Regions from separate parts of the Homo sapiens genome. Here regions 2, 3, 4 and 5 are each linked to region 1. Evidence: promoter capture Hi-C in 16 types of primary human blood cells and fetal thymus (Javierre and others, 2016). All regions are on one chromosome and are shown on one strand. Each heading gives the region's core, a stretch centred on a gene start or on the middle of the fragment in contact. The rest is flanking DNA. Distances are from core to core; before and after follow the strand shown. Region 1 holds the start of ATP13A1 (ATPase 13A1). Region 2 holds the start of ZNF565 (zinc finger protein 565). Region 3 overlaps CAPNS1 (calpain small subunit 1). Region 4 overlaps LOC105372385 (a long non-coding RNA gene). Region 5 holds the start of LOC124904700 (a long non-coding RNA gene).

What was found. Contacts are between HindIII fragments. The CHiCAGO score rates a contact against its expected background, and 5 or more counts as called.
Region 2: the fragment with the promoter of ZNF565 here is called in contact with the fragment with the promoter of ATP13A1 in region 1 in 1 of 17 cell types (M0 macrophages); the score reaches 13.3 in M0 macrophages.
Region 3: a contact is called between a fragment that was not itself captured here and the fragment with the promoter of ATP13A1 in region 1, in 1 of 17 cell types (M0 macrophages). The highest score is 9.6, in M0 macrophages.
Region 4: a contact is called between a fragment that was not itself captured here and the fragment with the promoter of ATP13A1 in region 1, in 1 of 17 cell types (monocytes). The highest score is 5.7, in monocytes.
Region 5: a fragment that was not itself captured here is called in contact with the fragment with the promoter of ATP13A1 in region 1 in 1 of 17 cell types (M0 macrophages); the score reaches 5.8 in M0 macrophages.

Annotation. Positions count from the first base shown.
Region 1 is chr19:19,662,350-19,665,019 of GRCh38, reverse strand. It overlaps ATP13A1 (ATPase 13A1), which reads left to right and starts at 1,344. Exons shown (of 26, transcript NM_020410.3): 1 at 1,344-1,749. The coding sequence starts at 1,354. RefSeq lists silencers at 858-907, 1,348-1,607 and enhancers at 1,008-1,297, 1,641-1,742, 1,014-1,996, 2,128-2,177. The HindIII fragment of the contact is 4,289 bases long and covers 1-2,195 here.
Region 2 is chr19:36,213,355-36,216,024 of GRCh38, reverse strand. It overlaps ZNF565 (zinc finger protein 565), which reads left to right and starts at 1,360. Exons shown (of 5, transcript NM_152477.5): 1 at 1,360-1,403. It overlaps ZNF146 (zinc finger protein 146), which reads right to left and starts at 919. Exons shown (of 4, transcript NM_007145.3): 1 at 829-919. RefSeq lists enhancers at 676-865, 976-1,405. The HindIII fragment of the contact is 6,757 bases long and covers 1,173-2,670 here.
Region 3 is chr19:36,147,112-36,149,781 of GRCh38, reverse strand. It overlaps CAPNS1 (calpain small subunit 1), which reads right to left. Exons shown (of 11, transcript NM_001749.4): 10 at 146-204. Among named protein-coding and RNA genes, the nearest start is that of COX7A1, 4.0 kb to the left of the region's middle. The HindIII fragment of the contact is 2,849 bases long and covers 1-2,670 here.
Region 4 is chr19:36,128,385-36,131,054 of GRCh38, reverse strand. All of the region lies in intron 2 of LOC105372385 (a long non-coding RNA gene), which reads left to right. Among named protein-coding and RNA genes, the nearest start is that of CAPNS1, 10 kb to the left of the region's middle. RefSeq lists an enhancer at 2,575-2,670. The HindIII fragment of the contact is 8,615 bases long and covers 1-2,670 here.
Region 5 is chr19:34,973,193-34,975,862 of GRCh38, reverse strand. LOC124904700 (a long non-coding RNA gene) reads left to right here and starts at 2,236. Exons shown (of 2, transcript XR_007067237.1): 1 at 2,236-2,670. The HindIII fragment of the contact is 2,908 bases long and covers 1-2,670 here.

The sequences.
Region 1 (2,670 bases), core at 95-2,594:
GCGCCTGCAACCACGCCCGGCTAATTTTTTGTATTTTTAGTAGAGACGGGGTTTCACTGTGTTAGCCAGGACGGTCTCGATCTCCTGAACTCGTGATCCGCCCGCCTCGGCCTCCCAAAGTGCTGGAATTACAGGGGTGAGCCACCGCGCCCGGCCTAGAAGTATATAATTTCAAGTAAACACCAGTTTTTCATTTTTTATGTTAAAGTGGTAATTTCTTTTTTTTTTTTTTTTTTTTTTTGGAGACAGAGTCTCGCTCTGTCGCCCAGGCTGGAGGGCAGTGGCACAATCTCCGCTCACTGCAAGCTCTGCCTCTCCAGTTCGCGCCATTCTGCCTCAGGCTCCGGAGTAGCTGGGACTACAGGCGCCCGCCACCACGCCCGGAGAATTTTTTTTTTTTTTTTGTATTTTTAGTGGAGACGGGGTTTCACCGCGTTAGCCAGGATGGTCTCGATCTCCTGACCTCGGCCTCCCAAAGTGCTGGGATTACAGGCGTGAGCCACCGCGCCCGGCCTAAAGTGGTTTTTGTAATTCATTTTTCTTTTTTTTTTTTTTGAGACAGTCTTGCTCTGTTGGCCAGGCTGAAGTGCAGTGGAGCAATCTTGGCTCACTGCAACCTCCGTCTCCCGGGCTCAAGCAATTCTCCTGCCTCATCCTCCCGAGTAGCTGGGATTACAGGCATGTGCCACCACGCCCGGCTAATTTTTGTATTTTTAGTAGAGACGTGGTTTCACCATGTTGGGTCTTGAACTCCTGATCTCAGGTGATCCACCCGCCTCGCCTCCCAAAGTGTTGGGATTACAGGCGTGAGCCACCGCGCCCGGCTAGTATTTGTAATTCTTATCTATCACATTAAGGCTCTTGTCCGGTGTGGTTGTGTTCCGGGGCGGTCCCCGACCCCGCCCCTCACAAGCCCCGCCCCCCGCACCGGGCCCCGCCTCCTGAACTCCGAAGCTCCCGACCCCGCCTCCGCAGGGTCCAGGCTTCGCCCCTGGTGACAGGTGGTGCTGGTGTAGTCAAGGAGGAGGGCTCGCTTTTTTTGGTTCAGGTTGTCATGGTGGCGCCCAAGCCCGCCTTGCCGGCCTTGTCTTTTCCGGTCTCAGTCCGGCGTGGCAGCGGAGGCAGGCACCGTTAGGTCTTCCAGTCCCTCTCTGTCATGGCGACGCCCAGCCTCTTCTTCCGGCCACAGCCTGTCATGGCGGCACCCGAAGTAGTCCCTGCCGGGGCCAGCCTGTTCTGTTGCCCTGGCTCTTCCTAGTCCAGGCTGCCATGGCGGCGCTCAGGGCTTACCGGAAGTAAAACTTCGGAAGTGAGGCGTTCCTCTGCCCGGAAGTGAGCGCGGCGCTAGGAAAGATGGCGGCAGCGGCGGCGGTGGGCAACGCGGTGCCCTGCGGGGCCCGGCCTTGCGGGGTCCGGCCTGACGGGCAGCCCAAGCCCGGGCCGCAGCCGCGCGCGCTCCTTGCCGCCGGGCCGGCGCTCATAGCGAACGGTGACGAGCTGGTGGCTGCCGTGTGGCCGTACCGGCGGTTGGCGCTGTTGCGGCGCCTCACGGTGCTGCCATTCGCCGGGCTGCTTTACCCGGCCTGGTTGGGTGCCGCAGCCGCTGGCTGCTGGGGCTGGGGCAGCAGTTGGGTGCAGATCCCCGAAGCTGCGCTGCTCGTGCTTGCCACCATCTGCCTCGCGCACGCGCTCACTGTCCTCTCGGGGCATTGGTCTGTGCACGCGCATTGCGCGCTCACCTGCACCCCGGTAAGTGTGTACACGCGAGCCCGACCCCCAGCACGGTCGAGCCTCGCCGTGGGTCCCAGCTGCGGCCTTCCTGTCGGTCACCATCGCGACCTGGGCCACTCATCTGCCTGGCCTGGATTCCCAGGGGCACCCTCTACACTTTGGCGCAGGCTTAATCATGACCCCACTGCTGACTTGCTGTGCATGCCTGGTGCGGGTTATTTCCTTTTTCTGAAGTCCTCCCTGTTATGGTCATTTAGATTCAGTGATGTAATACTTGTAAAAGGCTTAGCGCAGGGCCCAGCATACGTCGCCCAGGTCAGGTAGGAGTTGTTTATACTAGTTCCCATATTAGCGACTACTCTTGTTCTGGAAACGGCCCTACCTTCCATCTCATCTGTCTCCTACCTTGGTTTTCAAAGTGTAAGGCGAGATCACTGGGATAGGTTTCCCCCATCTATGAAGCTTAGTTGGTTCTTAGACTGAACCAAGTCTTGCTGTCCAGTGCTTAGTGGTCTTCCATACTGTGATGGAAAGGAGCATGAAATGCAGTTAATTACAGTGTTGAAGAGAGGCAGAGGTGTTTATGAGCGAGTCATTTACATGATGTCTTTCCGCAAAATGAGGGTGGTGATACTGAGTTCTGTCGGGGATACAACAGCAAGCAAGGTCGCGCTCCTGACCCACAGTTTAGAGTTCTGAGTGACCAAGTGTCGTCGGAGGAGTTGGTGACTGTGAGCTTCCCTGGGCCTGAAGCAGTGACTGTGTCGTCTCTCTCTGGGCCTGCCTCAGGTGACACCAGCAGGTTTGGAGCCATGGACACTGAGGTATATCAGGAAGCTTCCCCTCTGATTCCAGGAGTGTGTTTGCCTCAAGAAGAGGAAAAGGGAACAGCATCAAGGGCTACAGAAAGACAGAAGCCCCCCACCCTGGCTGGCTCTG
Region 2 (2,670 bases), core at 111-2,610, about 17 Mb before region 1:
AACGCATCTTTGGAGACGTCAGTAGCATTCTCCATTACTTCACAAAATCCATACAACCTGAGAACGCCTCGACTCATTAAGGAATTAAGACACCTAGGATTTAGTCCAGACTCATAGATAAACACTGCAACAATTAAGCTTTCTTCAAAAAATGAGGATAACTGTGCCTAACCTAAAACCGTTGACTCCCTCATCCTGGGCGCCGTTATATGGGATTGCTTCTCAAAGCGTACAATGCTGTTTAGTCTAGGGCTTTGCTTAACAGCCCTATTTAAGTACCCCAAAGATGGGGATTTGAATAGTCTGAAGTAGGCACCCCGAAACTAAAGTTCCTTCGAAACACTCTCGTTTAATTAAAAAAAAAAGTCACGGTGATTTGCATGCCACTCCAATTAAAAAGAAATGCTTTTATATAAAAACTCGTTTTAAAATTATTCACCACTTAGCTTTTCCACCCCTTCAATTTTCAAGTAAAAAAGACGCTCCAGGAAGATGGCACCGTTATAATTATCAGCACTTTCGACAAGGGAAGTGCAGCTCAAACGTTATACCTCAATGCTGGTCTCCTACATCTCCCTCTTAGGCACAATCACACACAATCCCGCACCCAGTTTCACATTCACTCAACAATCCCAAACATCAGGTCAAACTTTGAGGACAAACTCGGTCACACTCGCTCAAACCCGCCTCAGAGGCCCCCATCTCCGCCCCGCACGTAGGCCAGAAGCTCTTACACCCACTCCCTGCCCTCGCGCCGCGCCCCTAAAGATCAGGAATCCTCCCCTTTAACCTCCCCGGTCCGACCGACCCGAGACGCCCAGATCCCACCTCCTACTTTCGCGCCACGTGGACCCAGGGGCCGTACTGACCCGCGGACAAAGACCAAAATGTCCACTCGGTGCGCTGCGCTTGCGCACTCGGAGAGCGAGGAAGCACTCCCAGAAGTCTCCGCGACGCGGCCCGCCTCGGTCACCGCGGCCAGGCCCAGGCTGGTACTGAATTACCTTCTATTACCAGCAACGTCGCTTCTCAGGCCTTGGACTACATTTCCCTTGAGGCTTTACTGGTCGACTCTCTGTCTCCTCCCCTCCCCCCGCGAACTTGGCCGCCTCCTTCTGTGACGATGGAGCTCTTGAGGTAAGTAGTCCTTTAGCGTCAGATGACTTCAAGCTTGCTGGAAGGTCTGGAGTGGCGACGCCCTCTCCGAAGACTCGTGGGCGCAAAAATGTCAAAACGAGCCAGGCCCCGACTCAGAGATAAGAGAACGCCATTCTGTCCGTGGCCGATCTAGCTCTGGACTACAATTCCCAGAGCCCACAGCGGCCTGACGTTACGTCGTTCTTGACGTCGTGGCGAGCTAGTTAGCTCCGCAAGGACCCGGACGCGACCAGGGGAGGCAGAAGGTGAGGGGTCTGGGAGTCCTGGGCGGGGCCGGGGCGTGTCCGGAGCCTCGAATCTGTGCGCGCAGGCGGGAGCTGGCTGCGGATGCGCCGTTCTGAATGTGTCTTTGTGGCTGTGTGGCTGGGTGTGGGTGTCTGCAACTGTGCACGTGTAACCGCCTGTCTCCAGGGTGTCTGGTGGTTTTTGTGTAACCATGTGTGATAGAGAGTATCGGGGTGCAGGGTCCTTGTGACCGGGGGTGATACTGCGTGTGTCCCCGTTGTATATGTGGCCTGTTCGCCCTGTTCCTGGGGTGTGAGTACAGTTGTGACTGTGTGACCACTGCGGGTGTGCGGTTGTGATTCATGTCTCCAAGGTGTGTGCGTGGTTTTGGTTGTGTGACACTGTGGCCGTGTGCAATTGCCTGTGCCTGTGACTGTGTGGTGACGCCGCTTGTGTATTCCTGTATCCCTTGGTGTGTGTGTTTGTGTGTATGTGTGTGGTGCTGTGTATGCGGGAGTGGGGTGCCACTGCTTGTGTGGGTTGCTTGTGTGAGTGTGACTGTGTGTATGTCCACAGTGAAAGTTCAGTTGTGACTGGGTGCCGTAAAGTACCAGTGATGGCGTGTGTCCCCTGAGTGGGTGTGTGACTGTGACTATATGAGGCATTTGTGGGTGTTGGTGTGTGGGGCTTGTGACTATACGGGAGTAACTGTATCACAGTGGAGAGTAGATTGTGTGACTGGGTGTGTCTTAGCGGGTGTGTGATTGTGACTGGAAAGATATTGTGACTGGAAAGGTATAGAGGTGTCTGTGATTGTGTCCTGTGTCTCAGGAGTGGATGTAGGGCCGGGTGTGGTGGCTCACATCAGCCCTTTGGGAGGCCGAGGTGGGAGGATCACTTGAGCCCAGGAGTTCGAGACCAGCCTGGCCTGTACAAAAAAAAAAAAAAAAAATTAATGGCTGGCACGGTGGCTCACACCTGTAATCCCAGCACTTTGGGAGGCCGAGGCGGGTGGATCACCTGAGGTCAGGAGTTCTAGACCAGCCTGGCCAACACGATAAAACCCTGTCTCTACTAAAAATACAAAAATTAGCTGGGCGTGGTGGCAGGTGCCTGTAATCCCAGCTGCTCAGGGGGCTGAGGCAGGAGAATCGCTTGAACCCAGGAGGCAGAGGTTGCAGTGAGCCGAGATCGCGCCATCGCACTCCAGCCTGGGGGACAAGAGCGAGACTTCGTCTCAAAAACAAACAAACAAAAAATTAAAAATTATCTGAGTGTGGTGGCCCA
Region 3 (2,670 bases), core at 1-2,500, about 16 Mb before region 1:
GGAACCCCAAGAGCACCAGCCCCTTTGCCCTCACCCAGGGACGGCTGGCAAAATAGGAGGAAGGGGACTGCAGCTCAGAGCTGGTATGAAGGGCTGAGGGGTGGGGTCCTCCCAGGCACCCATACCCCAATATGGGGGTCCTTACCTCCTGGATGTTCACCTGGATTTGTCCAGTGCCATCTTTGTCAAGAGATTTGAAGGCACCTGGAGGAGGAGATGCAGAGGTTTGGCGGCAGGGAAGGAAGGAGACTGGTTTTTGGCATAATAACATTACACAAATACATGGGATGACAATCATAGCAGCTGGCACTTCACTGAGTATTTACTGTGTGCCAAGCATGGGGTAAAGTGCTTTCCAGGTATTGGCTGATTTAATCCAACTCTGTGAGATAAGTGTCATTTTAAAATGAGGCACAGGCTGGGCGTGGTGGCTCACACCTATAATCCCAACACTTTGGAAGGCCAAGATGGGAGGATCACTTGAGCCGCCCAGGAGTTCGAGACCAACCTGGGCAACAGAGACCTCATCTCTGCTTTTTAAAAAAACTAAAAATTAAAAACAGGAAAAAAAGAAATGAGGCAGGAAGGGAGGGGCCATGCCCCAGGTCACATAGCAAGAAAGTGAAGAAATCAGGATTGGAATCCAATCTGTTACCCTCCTCAATAATGGCCTCTGTGTACTGATATCACCTCTGCCCAGCCCCAGCCTCCTACTGACATCTATGCTCCATCCTCTCCAGTTCTAAGCCTAACAGGCTACTAGAGGGAGGCTCTGCACACTCTACTTCCTGCCCCTAGAGTCTTACAGGTAGGTCCCCACGCCTGCCCTGAAACTTGACTCCATGTTCCCCACCCACAGGGAATCTAGACATGATGACTACACTATCTCCGCTCAGTTACCACCACCCTCAGGTGTCCATACCCACAGCGTCCTGCACACCCTGGCTGCCTTTCTTTCTTTTTTTTTTTGAGACAGAGTCCCACTCTGTTGCCCAGGCTGGAGTGCAGTGGCACGATCTTGGCTCACTGCAACCTTTGCCTCCCAGGTTCAAGTGATTCTCCTGCCTCAGCCTCCTGAGTAGCTGGGACTACAGGCGTGCACCACCACGCCTGGCTAATTTTTTTGTATTTTTAGTAGAGACGGGGTTTCACTATGTTGGCCAGGCTGGTCTCAAACTCCTGACATCAGGTGATCCGCCCACCTCGGCCTCCCAAAGTGCTGGGATTACAGGAGTGAGCCACCATGCCCAGCCCTTTTTTTTTTTTTTTTAGACGGTGTCTCTGTGGCCCAGGCTGGAGTCCAGTGGCAAGATCATAGCTCACTGCAGCCTCACCCTCCCGGGCTCAAGTGATTCTCCTACCTCAGCCTCCCGAGCAACTGAGACCACAGGCATGTGCCACCATGCCCGGCTATGTCTATATACATATATTTTTTTTTTTTTGTAGAGATGGAGTCCTACTACATTGCCCAGGCTGGTCTCAAACTCCTGGACTCAAATGATCCTCCCGACTATCAGCCTTCTTGCTGGTAGATCCAGTGGCTATTTCCTGGCCCCTCTTATGTGACTTGTGGCATCAACCTTGTCTGTCCACTCCCTTCACCTCCCTGCTATCTCACATACCTGCTTCTTTTCCTCTGTTACTTTTCATGCATTGTGGGCTCTCTGGAGGCCAAGGGATCTTTTTTTCTTTTTTTTTTTTTGAGATGGAATCTCGCTCTTGTCACCCAGGTTGGAGGCTGGAGTGCAATGGCATGACCTCTGCTCACTGCAACCTCCGCTTCCTGGGTTCAAGCAATTCTCCCTCCCTAAACCTCCTGAGTAGCTGGGACTACAGACACGCCCCCACGCCTGGCTAACTTTTGTATCGTTAGTAGATGCGGGGTTTCGCCATGTTGGCCAGGCTGGTCTTGAACTCCTGACCTCAGGTTTTACGCCCACCTCAGCCTCCCAGAGTGCTGGGATTACAGGCATAAGCCACTGCACCCGGCCTGGAGGCCAAGGGATTTTTTTTTTTTAAGACGGAGTCTCGATCTGTCACCCAGGCTGGAGTGCAGTGGCAGATCTCAGCTCACTGCAAGCTCCGCCTCCTGGGTTCATGCCATTCTCCCGCCTCAGCCTCCCAAGTAGCTGGGACTACAGGCGCCCGCCACCACACCTGGCTAATTTTTTGTATTTTTAGTAGAGATGGGGTTTCACTGTGTTAGCCAGGATGGTCTCGAACTCCTGACCTCGTGATCCGCCCTCCTCGGCCTCCCAAAGTGCTGGGATTACAGGCGTGAGCCACCGTGCCCAGCCGAGGCCAAGGGATCTTTCTAAAGCCAAACCTGACCCTGTCCTCCCTCTGCCTAGAACCTGCCATGGCTCCCCAATGTCTCTGGTAGAGTTTGAGCACCCCCAAACTTGGCACCCACAATCCTGCATGACCTAATCATGCTCACTGCTCCTACCTTCTCTTACTTAGCTCAGATCTCAGATAGATCCAAGTTCAAATTCTGGCTTTACAACTTCCTAGCTGGGTGACTATGAGCATGAAAATTTGCCTCCTTGAATCCTAAGTTCCTCCTTCACAAAATAAGGACAGTAATCCCCACTTCCCAGCCATGTCTTCAGCATTCAGTACACTAACACTCAGAAGGCCACATGCAATGGCTCATGCCTGTAACACCAA
Region 4 (2,670 bases), core at 79-2,578, about 16 Mb before region 1:
GAGGATTTCTTGAGCCCAGGAATAGAGACCACTCTAGGCAACATAATGAGACCTCATCTGTACAAAAATAAGTTTTTTAATTAGCTGGGCATGGTGGCACACACCTGCAGTCCTAGCTACTCAGGAGGTTCAGGCTGGAAGATAGCTTGAGCCCAGAAATTCGAGGCTGCAGTGAGATATGATATATGATCACACCATGACACTCCAGCCTGGATGACAGAGCAAGACCCTGTTTCTGAAAACAAACAAAAAACCCAGAAAGTAATGCCCAAGAGGATCCTTTTATACAGGTTATCATGGACTAGCATATTAATGAAAATTCCTGCAACAAAGCAGCTAATTTAACTTAGTTCAAGGCAGCAAATTCCACATTTCTTTTGTCAAGGAACTCCTTTTTTTTTTTTTTTTTTTTTGAGAGGGGTCTCTCGCTCTGTAGGCTGGAGTGCATTGCTGTGATCTCAGCTCACTGCAACATCTACCTCCCAAGTTCAAGCGATTCTCCTGCCTCAGCCTCCTGAGTAGCTGGGATTACAGGTGCCCGCCACTATGCCAGGCTAATTTTTGTATTTTTAGTAAAACAGGGTTTCACTATATTGGCCAGGCTGGTCTTGAACTCCTGACCTTGTGATCCACTGCCTTGGCCTCCCAAAGTGGTGGGATTACAGGCATGAGCCACCTTAACTGGCCTCAAGGAACTCTTTTATCTTTAGGTATTTCATTCATGTCCCCTGGAATCTTGTCAAATGCTGGCTGAAATTTTCTTGTAAAATTTTGTGGCATGGCGGCTTATGCCTATAATCCCAGCACTTTGGGAGGCTGAAGTGGGAGAATCACTTGAGCTCAGGAGTTTGAGACCAGTTTGGGCAACATAGCAAGACTCCATCTCTACAAAAAAGTGTTTTGAAAAAATTAGCCAGGCATAGTGGTGTGCCCGTGCTCCTAGCTACTTGGGAGGCTGGGGTGGGAGGATCGCTGGAGCCCAGGAGTTTGAGGTTGCAATGAGACGAAATTGTGCCCCATACTCCAGCCTGGATGACAGAGAGACCCTGTCTCAAAAATAAAAAATAAAAATAAACATCTTTCCTGATTTGACAGGCAAAAGGTGGTGTCTCAATATTTTATGTAACATTCTTCAAATATGAATGGGGGTGAACTTGGCTTTCATGGTTTTTTGGCTATTGGTGTTTCTTTTATGTATTGTCTTTTCAAATATTTGCCCAGTTTCCTTATTGGCTTTTCATGTTAATTTCACATTACTTTATTAAAATCTTTATTCTTGGCCGTGCGCAGTGGCTCACACCTGGAATCCCAGCACTTTGGGAGACTGAGGTGGGAGGATTGCTTGAGCCCAGGAGCCTGAGGCTGCAGTGAGCCGAGATTGTGCCACTGCACTCCAGCCTGAGCAACATGGCGAAACCCCACCTCTACAAATAATACAGAAATTAGCTGGGTGTGGTGGCATGTGCCTGTAGTCTCAGCTATTCATGGGGCCTACTGAGGTGGGAGGAGCACTTGAGCCCGGGAAGTTGAGGCTACAGTGAGCTCAGATCACACCGCCGGGATCACACACAGGCTGGATAACAGAGCAAGACGCTGTCTAAAAAACAAACAAAAAAATCAGCTCTTTTTTTTTGAAATGGAGTTTCGCTTTTGTTGCCCAGGCTGGAGTGCAATGGTGTGATCTTGGCTTGCCACAACCTCCGCCTCCTGGGTTCAAGCGATTCTCCTATCTCAGCCTCCCAAGTAGCTGGGATTATAGGTATGGGCCACCATGCCCGCCTAATTTTGTATTTTTAGTAGTTTCTCCATGTTGGTCAGGCTGGTCTTGAACTCCCAACCTCAGGTGATTCGCCTGCCTCGGCCTCCCAAAGTGCTGGGATTACAGGTGTGAGCCACCCTGCCTGGCCTGCAGCATTCTTTCCTTCATTTTTTTTTTTTTTTTTTTTTTTTGAGATGGAGTCTCATTCTGTCACCCAAGCTGGAATGCAGTGGCATGATGTCAGCTCACTGCAACCTCCACCTCCTGGGTTCAAGCAATTCTCCTGCCTCAGCCTCCCAAGTAGCTGGGACTACAGGCACATGCTGGCATGCCCAGTTAGTTTTTTGTATTTTAGTAGAGATGGGGTTTCACTGTATTGCCCAGGTTGGTCTCGAACTCCTGAGCTCAGGCAATCCACCTGCCTCGGCCTCCCAAAGTGCTGGGATTACAGGCGTGAGTGCCCGGCAGCATTCTTTCTAGTAAAACTTTTCTTTTTCAAGCCTACGCTGTCCTCAGTAAATTCTTCTTACTGTTAGAAATAAGTTCTTGGTGCCACAGAGAGAGACCAGCACTCGGAGAAAAGTTTCTTAGCAAGGCAAAGTTTACTTCTGCAGAAGCGTGCTGCCCAGACCTGTACCAAAAGCACACCTAATAAAGGAGAGCAGGGGTTTTTAACCCCCGTTGGCTAGGGTTGGACCTCACAATCTAAGCTGATTCCGATTGCCTATTTCTAATAGAGGCGGGGTATGGGTTGCAGCGGCGGGGAGGGGCAGTTTCCCCGGTAAGGGCAGTTTCTGCAGGAAGGACAGTTCATAGAGCAAAGGACAAGGAAGTTAGATTTTTGAAGAGGAACTCATTCTGTCTAACATTACCAACACTTTCGCTCCCGGGGCTCTGACATCTCGCCCGGC
Region 5 (2,670 bases), core at 54-2,553, about 15 Mb before region 1:
CCCCAGAAGGGGAAGGGTTTCTGACCCCAGAAGAGTAAGGACACTTTATAGAAAAAAAGGCACGGAGCCGGGGAGGCCTTTACTGAAAGTCAGTATCCAAAGGCTCGCTGAATTCTTCAAAGAACGTTTCAGCCCTTTTTTTTTTTTTTTTTTTGCGACGGAGTCTCACTCTGTCACCCCGGCTGGAGTGCAGTGGCACAATCTTGGCTCACTGCAACCTCCACCTCCTGGGTTCAAGCAATTCTCCTCCCTCAGCCTCCCGAGTAGCTAAGATTACAGGCCTGCACCACCATGCCTGGCTAATGTTTGTATTTTTAGTAGAGATAGGGTTTCCCCGTGTTGGCCAGGCTGGTCTCAAACTCCTGACCTCAGGTGATCCATCCGCCTCGGCCTCCCCAAGTGCTGGGATTACAGGTGTGAGTCACTGCGCCCAGCCACGTTTCAGCATTTCATTTGAGCAGGGAATACATCCTCAAGAGGAGCAGGAAAAGGGAAGAAGATGCAGGAAAGTTGGCCATTATTTGAGAAGATAAAACCCACTCTCTGTGGTGCTGACAGTATTTCTTTGTGCACCATCGTTCACAGCTCTTGGTCCAGAGGTTACAACCACGCCCACCACACCACCTGCAGACTGGCTCCAGATTAATTTCCTGGGTCTGCTTCCTCCCTCACTCACATTTAACTTTGCAAATCCCCTTCATTCATTATTCATTCATTCCACAAATATTTGTCAAAGGTGCTAGAGATAAAATGGGAAATAAGTTTCTTGCATTCGAGAAGTTTATAATGTGATGAAATCATTGTCTTTGCTAGCATATATTAAGAATTTACACCTGGTGAATCTTCCTTCAAAAATGAGAAATCAAGTACGTCAATGGACATTTGGTGGGAGATTAACAGAGAATTCCAGAATGACTAAACAAACCCACAATTTTGGGGAGGAGAACAAAAAGAAAGAATGAAGACAAAATCCCCCAGAAATGGTCTCAACGGTGAGGAAAGAGAAGTCAGAAGCTGGGTATTGCTACATCCTGGAAACAGCATATAGGAAATTAGGAAATTTAGGAAGGCGATTTCTTGTTCTAATTCTGCCTGACTCATGCAAATTCCCGCATATCTATTTACGCCTCTGTCACTCAGTTTTCCTCATCTGTACAGATAAACTCTAATCTAATGCAGATGGGTGTTACAAAAATGCAACAGTGCACCTAAGAGTGCTTTGGGAACCATGAAGCTCTATATAAATAGGAAAGAATATATTTTTTTAGAGTGCCTCCTAACATCGCTGATCTCTGTCTTCCAGGCACCTTCTTTCCTGGAGCACAACTCACCAATTCCACCACCAGCTGGTTTCTTCCTACGTCACAAAAGCAACTGCGAACAGGGCTCCATTGAGTGGGGACCCGACTCATTACTTCTCTCAGGGGGCCCACAGTGGAGTTAGAAAGGCGAGCCCAGCAAACACTTACAGGAAACTGCCGTGAGCCCCATCACTGAGCATGGGTGGGGTGGGTGAACTAGAATTTGCTATCTGAGCAGTTGGTGTTTGACTTGAGTCTTTGAAGCACCTGGAAAATAATATCACACGTCCTTGGTGTTCCATGTTTGCCCTGACCGCACCTTTATCTGAAGGCCCCTGAGGGCTGAGGTCTTGCATTCCAGGAGACCCTTGAGGGTCAGGGTTTATGTGTTTCTCCTATGCCTACACACACAGGTGGTGTGGAGTTGTTCCATAGCACAGTTCCATTCATACACAAGGTTCTTACAGTGTGCAATGACCCAGGCTTGCAGCCCTTCTCAACCTTAACTGCACAGTAAAATCCCCAGGGAAACTTTTAACAATCCGGGCAGCAGGCTGCACCCCAGACCAATGCAATCAAAATCTCTGGGGGTAGTCCCTTGCATCAGGGATTTTAAAAGTTCCTCTGGGCCAGGCGCGGTAGCTCACACCTGTAATCCCAGCACTTTGGGAGGCCGAGCTGGGCAGATCACTTGGGGTAAGGAGTTCGAGACCAGCCTGGTCAACATGGTGTAACCCCGTCTCTACTAAAATACAAAAATTAGCCGGGCGTAATGGTGGGAGCCTGTAATCCCAGCTACTCTGGAGGCTGAGGAGGGAGAATCGCTTGAACCCGGGAGGCGGAGGTTGCAGTGAACAGAGATCGCGCCATTGCACTACAGCCTGGGCGACAGAGGGAGACTCCATCTCAAACACACACACACACACACACACACACACACACACACACACACACACACTTCCTCTGGTGGTTCTAACACGCAGCCAAGGTAGAGAACCACTGAGTTACAGCCTGGCCCTCAAGGGTGCACACCAATTGCCTGGGTGGGGGAGTTGACAAAATGCAGATTTTGATTCAGCAGGTCTGGTTTTAAGTCCTGAGGTTCTGCTTTTCAAACAAGTTCCCAGACGCTGCTGCCGCTGGTGGCCGGACAGCATTTTGACAGAAAGGGGCGGGAGCACAAGCAAAGTTCCCTGGGACCGGGATTGTGGTTCTAGTGCCCTCTGGTGGTCAGGACCTCCCTAGCAGCGCCCTGCAGAGAAGAACTGATGATAGAAGCCCTGGCTAACAGAATTTCTGGCGGACACCTGGATTTCAGCCTTGTAATGACCGGAGCAGAACCCAGCCAAGCCTGCTTGGACTCCTGACC